2 separate regions of the Homo sapiens genome follow, and region 1 is linked to region 2. Evidence: promoter capture Hi-C in 16 types of primary human blood cells and fetal thymus (Javierre and others, 2016). All regions are on one chromosome and are shown on one strand. The core of a region is centred on a gene start or on the middle of the fragment in contact, and the rest is flanking DNA. Distances in the headings are between cores, read along the strand shown. Region 1 overlaps RAB3C (RAB3C, member RAS oncogene family). Region 2 holds the start of ACTBL2 (actin beta like 2).

The links. Contacts are between HindIII fragments. The CHiCAGO score rates a contact against its expected background, and 5 or more counts as called.
Region 1: a fragment that was not itself captured here is called in contact with the fragment with the promoter of ACTBL2 in region 2 in 1 of 17 cell types (M2 macrophages); the score reaches 6.9 in M2 macrophages.

Annotation. Positions count from the first base shown.
Region 1 is chr5:58,858,706-58,862,573 of GRCh38, forward strand. RAB3C (RAB3C, member RAS oncogene family) reads left to right here. Exons shown (of 5, transcript NM_138453.4): 5 at 1-689. Among named protein-coding and RNA genes, the nearest start is that of PDE4D-AS1, 180 kb to the right of the region's middle. The HindIII fragment of the contact is 1,390 bases long and covers 962-2,351 here.
Region 2 is chr5:57,480,805-57,484,366 of GRCh38, forward strand. It overlaps ACTBL2 (actin beta like 2), which reads right to left and starts at 2,007. Exons shown (of 1, transcript NM_001017992.4): 1 at 1-2,007. The coding sequence starts at 1,903. The coding sequence ends at 773. The region is part of intron 1 of RMEL3 (enriched in melanoma 3); the gene reads left to right. The HindIII fragment of the contact is 2,872 bases long and covers 442-3,313 here.

The DNA of each region.
Region 1 (3,868 bases), core at 407-2,906, 1.4 Mb after region 2:
ATCATTGTTTTCTTAAGACAGCCAAACTGGCCCTTTGAAACCATTCAAATTACCCCAGTTTAGCTCCCTACCTTTTAGTCTCCGTGAGGAAGACAAGCTGTTGCATTATCATATTCCTCTGTGCTGAGCAGCTCAAGACTCAGCCACAATATGCAAATTGCTTTAATGCCATATTACGGCAGTTGATTTAGACATTTGCCAGTGCACCAAACCATGAGAGATTGTCCGACCTAATGCCACCTGGCAGATGTGTACCCAGAGATTTTTCTGTAGCTCCATGTTTCCCATAAAGGGCATTGGAAATGCACAGATGAAGATCTTCCTTTGGAACCAGGCACATTTGGCCCCTTCTCAGTGACTGCACTGTGGAACTCTTCTTAAGAAAATATTGAAAACAGCTTAATGCTTTCATATAGTGACCGACATTTAGTTGAAAACTACTGCTGCATAGCAAATATTGTGACTCTTCATGTGTCCACAGGAGCTCTTGTGTGGGTTTAAAGCTATGAAGTGTATTCACATTGTGAAGTTTTAATTATCTTTATTGAAATTAATTGTGTAAAAATGGTATGTGCTCTATTAGGTATTCAGTTTGTATGTGAATTCTATAAAGAAAGTGGTTTTTGTTCTTTGAGTTTGTTTTATTTCTTGAAGATTACAATAAATATCTAAGAGACTATATTCCTGAATTTCTTAGCCTTAGTCTGATTAATGTTTTTCATCTCCTTTCAATTCATATTATTTTTCATCCTAGGATGCTTATTTCCATTTCTTCTCCCACTTCTATAATCTTAGGTACAACACTGAGTTTGAACTGAAGATGAAGAGTGAACACATTTAGGGCTTTGAGTATCTCACACATGAATTTGGACTTAGGCACAGGAATGAATTCTAATACTTGTAATCTTTCAAGGTCGATAACTTTCTAACTGACCCAACTGACTGGGTTCCAGAGTTACAAAGCTTAGCTGTAGGATCAAGAATAGCTGCTAAGGGAGATAAAGGTCTTCAGGTCTGCAACTTGAAGACCATGTGTCCCTAAATGAAAAGTCTAAGGTTTGATGATCACTTAGCACCCTACTGGCATAGCCCGAGGCAAGGGCGGTCAACAGAGAAAACATGTGGATGGGATGTGTGAATGGAATGGGTGTCATTTAATGCACAGTGCTTGGTGCAGTGATGATTAGGATGCCGTGCAGGATCTCCTTGGCCATGGGCCTCAAGGCATGGGGAAGCACCCAGCTACCAATCTATTTGTATCACAGCAGACCTACTACTAATTTTGCAATCTTGTAGCATTCTACTTGTACTAACAGCACTGATTCTATGGAATTTCTTCCAAATGTTCCTCAGGGCAATTTCCAGGAAGGAGTCTGCACTGAAAATCAGTCAAGGGGGAAGGTCCCTGGAAGAGCCACATGAGTCCCATGGGTCAAATTAGCTTCCTGAACTGAACTTGGTAATAGAAGGGTAACCTCCCTGGGTAGACAAAGCAAGTAGCACTTAAGAAACCAAAAAAAAAAAAAAAGAAAACAATGATAATAAATTAAGGGATTTCCAGTTATATTATCAACAAATACTTACAAAATGCCTTCTAATGCTAATTTATCAGTATTTATCAGTATTTATCAGTATTTCAGTAATTTATCAGTATTTATCAGTATACATGAAAATACATACTATAGAGTCCTGACCCTCCATGAACTTAAACCATTGTGATAGAGGAAAATGTGTAAGTTAATATCAATAAAAAACTCATCATTGATAAACTAAATATTCCTTAATATATATGTCTAATAAATACTTAAAATGAACATTGGAAATTTGTTTCATTTCAAAAGAGCTCACAAAAATTTCCTCTTTGAAATGTTGTAAAATGCATTTTTTGGACTGTAGTCCTTTGCCCCCAGATAAATATATAACAATCAATAAAAGTCAGTTCAAAACTTAAAAAAAAAAATTAAGAGCCCAGAAAGACTTCACATGTTTCCTGATTATTCTGAGGCTCTTGTGGCAGAACCAGATCCAACTGGTTTTAGCAGGAATCTGCCTGTACCCTATTCCCTCAAGTAATATGCCCTTAGCTTTTTTAAAATTAATTTTAAAACATGAAGTTACTATGTGGCCACTTACTCAATAGCATTGAGACAGTAGGCATGAAACAGAAAACATCTGTCACCCTCAGAAAATGCTAAGTCATTCTCTCCTCAACTTCCTAACAGACTTGAAAAGGACACCTTCTATATAAAAGGCCACAAAGTCTTTGCACAGTTCTCAGGGACACTCCACCTCTTGGTTCTTGGTTCTCCTCTTTCTCCTCTAACTTCTCAACCCCTCACCCAGTCCAAAGAAGCTTTAGTCTGATAGAGACTGCCTGCTCATCTTTTCTTCCTAATCTATTGTTAATGACCTGAGTCCTTTTGAGCTAGAATTTCTCATTGTTTATTAATTCTAAATCTCAGGAAATTTTATCTAAAAATTATGTTCTCTTTTTTAAGTATTGCCTCTCCCTTAAAGCAATTCTGCTAAGTGGAAGAAAGGCAAAGGGTATAGAAAATATATGGAAAGTGAGTGTTGGATGAAAATCTGGATTAATATTTCAAAACAATATTCTACCAAGCAGACAATTACAATATAATTTGATTAGTGTCAATATAGAGGTTAAACACAAGCTACTGTGAAAGCACAGAGAGAAGCAATTATTAATCCAGATTGAAAGCAAGGGCTGGGATGTTCTGAGAAGGCCTACTAGAGGAAACAAGGACTGAGCTAAAACATACAGGAGATGTAGGAATTATGCAGAGGCAGATGTGAGAGAAGACTGCTCCAAGCATGGGGAGCAAACCACGGAAGTTTAGCAAAGCATGGTGTATTTATGGAATTTCAAAGCCATTCACATAGGGTGATCACAGGATGAAACAAAAGGAGAAAGAGCGAGGGCTGAGATCATAACATTTATCAGAAATGCTTTAAATGTCTAGATTTCATTCTCTAGCTGTGGGGAATTCATGAACAGATTTAAGCCAGGTAGAAGTTTGAACAGATTTGAATTTTAGAAGATCACAAAATTGGCAATATGAGAAATGAATTAAAGGGAGGCAATAACAGAAACAGAAAGAGTATTAGACAGCTATTATAGTAACCTAGAAGTTTTATCTCTAAATTAATTGCAGAATGATAGAAATGAAGAGTAGGGAATACATGAAAGTTCACTTTAGAAGGTAAGAAATGGTGACCAGTAAGATTCGGGAAGAGGAAGAGGAAGAAACCAAAGAAGACCCTCAGGCTTCTGGCTTGGTTGATTTTGCCATTAACTAAGAGAGAAAGTACAACAGTAGCAGTAGGTTTAAAGAAAAGAGAATGAGTTCCATATCCACAGTGTTGTGATTGATATTTCTAGAGGATGTGCAAAGGATGCAACCCAGTGAACATCTGGAAGGTGCAGATCTAGAGTTCAGAAGAGAGTTCTGGAAAGTTCTAGTATGTAGATGATAACTAAGACTTGGGGAGTAGAGAAAATGACGTGCAAGAGAATGTCTCAAATGATAGAAGAGCAGAATGAGAACTAGGGCACACGATATTTATGGGCAGCCAAGGAAAACAAGTTCACAAAGAGACTTGAAAGAGGAGTGGTCAAAGGGATGGATGGAGAATCAAGTGAGAACGGGACACAAGAAGCCAAGAGAGGAGCCAGTTTTAAGAAAGAAGGAGTGATCCATATTTTTGGATGATGTAAAGTGGAATCACAATTGCCAGTCATACAAATTAGGGACACAGACACAGGACACTACTTGTGGGTGGTGGGTGAAAAGAAGATGAGGATTGGAAAATTACCTATTGGGTACTATTCTTGTTACTGAGTGACAAA
Region 2 (3,562 bases), core at 757-3,256:
TGTAGTTTTGGTATGAGAAGGTTCAGTAAGAAAGATATTAAAATATAATTTGACCAGCAGAACTCCACTATGAGCTGAAAATTTAGATGATTTATAAACATTAATGGAATGGTGGCTGTCTCATTATGCTTATTTAGTAAGGGAAACAATTAAAATATGTACCTAGTACAACGATGACTTTTGGGAGTAAAGAAATTCACATTAGCTGTTCAGATAGCTAGATACATCAGCATATTTCACAATATATTTTATTTCCCTGGTGCTTATGTATATATGGATATTATTGAACTTTATAATTCATTATCTCCATACAAAGAAGTAAACAAAACAAAGATACTTAACTAGTAAGACACGGCTGCTAAATGCATACGCACCTTTTTTTTTTAAACAAGTTTATACAGCCTGTTCTTGTTAAATATTTTAGCGAGAACTAAGTTTTAAAGCTTGATAATTATAGTTATCCATTCTGAAATGACATTTCTCGTGATTTTACTCCTTGTCACTTATATGTATTTAAGCTGGCCTACCTATCTTTGAACAGTATAGGCAAAGAAAAAGGAATATGGTATTAGAATTCACCTTCACTTGATGGAGAACCGGATGTGGTTATCTGGGTAAGAGCCCAGGTTACTTGGATGGAGAGATGGGTTTGCTGGTTTACACTAGGAAGAGTGACGTATTTACCTCGATTCTACTGAAAGCGGATAAAAGCAGTACCATCACTGTGACCTAGGAAAAGGGAAAATGTAAGCCCACTAATATGGAAGCCCATTCAGAAACATTTTCTGTGAACGATAGGAGGACCAGCCTCATCATATTCCTGCTTACTGATCCACATCTGCTGGAATGTGGACAGGCTGGCAAGGATGGAGCCCCCAATCCAAACAGAATACTTCCGCTCTGGGGGAGCTATGATCTTGATTTTCATGGTGCTGGGTGCCAGGGTTATGATTTCTTTCTGCATCCTGTCAGCAATGCCTGGGTACATGGTGCTCCCTCCAGATAACACGGTGTTGGCATAGAGATCCTTGCGAATATCCACATCGCACTTCATGATAGAGTTGAAGGTTGTCTCATGGATCCCACTGGACTCAATGCCCAGAAAGGAAGGCTGGAAAATGGCTTCAGGGCATCGGAAGCGTTCATTCCCAATGGTGATCACCTGCCCATCAGGAAGTTCATAGCTCCGTTCCGGTGAGGAGGATGCGGCTGCCCTGACCATCTCCTGCTCAAAGTCCAGGGCTACGTAGCACAGCTTCTCTTTGACATCTCGCACAATCTCCCGCTCAGCAGTGGTGGTGAAGTTATAGCCTCGCTCTGTCAGGATCTTCATGAGGTAATCAGTCAGGTCTCTCCCTGCCAGATCCAGGCGTAGAATGGCATGAGGCAGGGCATAACCTTCATAGATGGGCACGATGTGAGTGACCCCATCCCCAGAATCCATCACGATGCCTGTGGTCCGTCCTGAGGCATAGAGGGACAGCACAGCCTGGATGGCGACATACATGGCTGGTGTGTTGAAAGCCTCGAACATGATCTGAGTCATCTTTTCCCGGTTGATCTTGGGGTTCAGGGGTGCCTCGGTGAGGAGGATGGGATGCTCATCTGGTGCCACACGGAGCTCATTGTAGAATGTGTGGTACCAGATCTTTTCCATATCGTCCCAGTTGGTGACCACTCCATGCTCGATAGGATACTTCAGGGTCAGGACGCCTCTCTTGCTCTGAGCCTCATCTCCCACGTAGCAGTCCTTCTGGCCCATGCCTACCATAACGCCCTGGTGTCGAGGACGCCCTATCATGGAGGGGAACACAGCCCGGGGGGCATCGTCACCACCAAAGCCTGCCTTGCACATCCCTGACCCATTATCCACTACCAAGGCAGACAGCTCATTGTCAGTCATGGTGCTGGCTGAGATCTTCCAGACGAGTGAACAGGACAAGTGAATAGACAGTGAGTAAGAGAAAGTGAACAGGCCTAAAACACTCCAGAAATGCTTTCAGACACGGGAGGCTGCACCGGGACCACAGGTATTTAAAGGAACACACTGACTCCGCCCATGTCCTACTCCACCAGTTCCCAGCATTTCTGGATGAGGTCATCTCTGAGGTATTAATGATGGTGATGATTACATAAACAATTAGATCTTTCTACATAAAGAGAAAATTGGCTGCCAAGTGGTCAAATCTCAGGTTCCTGTAATTAGGCAACCCACACATGACCGTCAGCCTGCCTGGTGAGGTCTCTAGATAACTATGATGATGCAGTGGGGGATATAAAAGCAAGATGAAAGAAAGCTGGTGCTAGGTATGGCAACACTGCTGGGAGGAAGGCTCCCTCCTTAGCGTCCCTGAGGATTCACTTTTCCTACACTAGCTTACCTTTTCATTCTTAAGATACTGTTCTGATGAGGGGTCTTACCCTGCAATCTTCACTTTTTCAAGATTTTTGTTTCCATTAGATTCCTAATCCCACAGGGTGTCATCATCGTAGAGACTGTTTTAGTAAATGAAAATAATAAATGGCTAAGGATGGCCTGATGGCTGTAATTACAATGCACTTGTGTCAAGCAAAATGTAGAGATATTTAATAGACTTCTAATCCATCAGAGATCAAGCGAAAGGAATAGAATGATTGCTAAAGTTAACCCATATAGATACTTTTTTCTGATATAAATTTCTAACAACCAAATTTCATTAAACATTTACTGTGTCTAGACATTGTTCATAGAACCAGGTTCATTGGGTCCATGTTAATTGTATAATGACTGAATGTCAACTATTTTGCATGATTTATTAAGATGCAGGTTATAAAAATTTATTTATTTGCAACAACTCTTGAGTTCTGCAACAATGGACAAAATGAAGTGATAAGACAAATTTGAAAAATTATATATTTAAACTAATCCTTAAAACATTTTGATCTTCAAGATACATATACTATATTATAACATTAAACCTCTATGTAGTTATTAAAATCTATACAATTAGAATTATACTAGCTTTCCTTCCATTTCAAGATATATTACACCCTGATCACTTCATAGCAACAATTTGTTTGGGTTCCATGTTTCATATAGAAATACAGACTACCTGAAAAGATGTGTATGATGGTAAAATGTAGGACATCAGCAATGTGTTACAGAGAAATAGCATTTAAGAAAGCTCATTACTTCTGCTCCCCTATGTGTTAGGCGAATAGAATATAATTATCTTTGTGAGCTCTTGTAAAGCAAAGAAATTTTCCATGTCTACATCTGAGTTCTCCAAAATAATCTTTATTTGGGTTCATCATTCATTCATTTACCCAATAAAGCTTGCTTTGTAAGAGGTAGCACAGCCCCTATTTACTGGACAAAAAACACCCTCCAGCTCAAGGCCAGGAGAACTAACCTGAGTCTTTGCCCAGTGAGCCTCTTGGAGAGTCATGGTGTAGCATCAAGCTGTGAGCATCCAGCCCTCTTCTTTGTCTATAGCTTGATATAGATTTATTTTATCCAGTGCTGTAATATGCCTTCAAAACCTTTCTGGTGACAATCAGTCATGGCAGAATGTATGTTTCA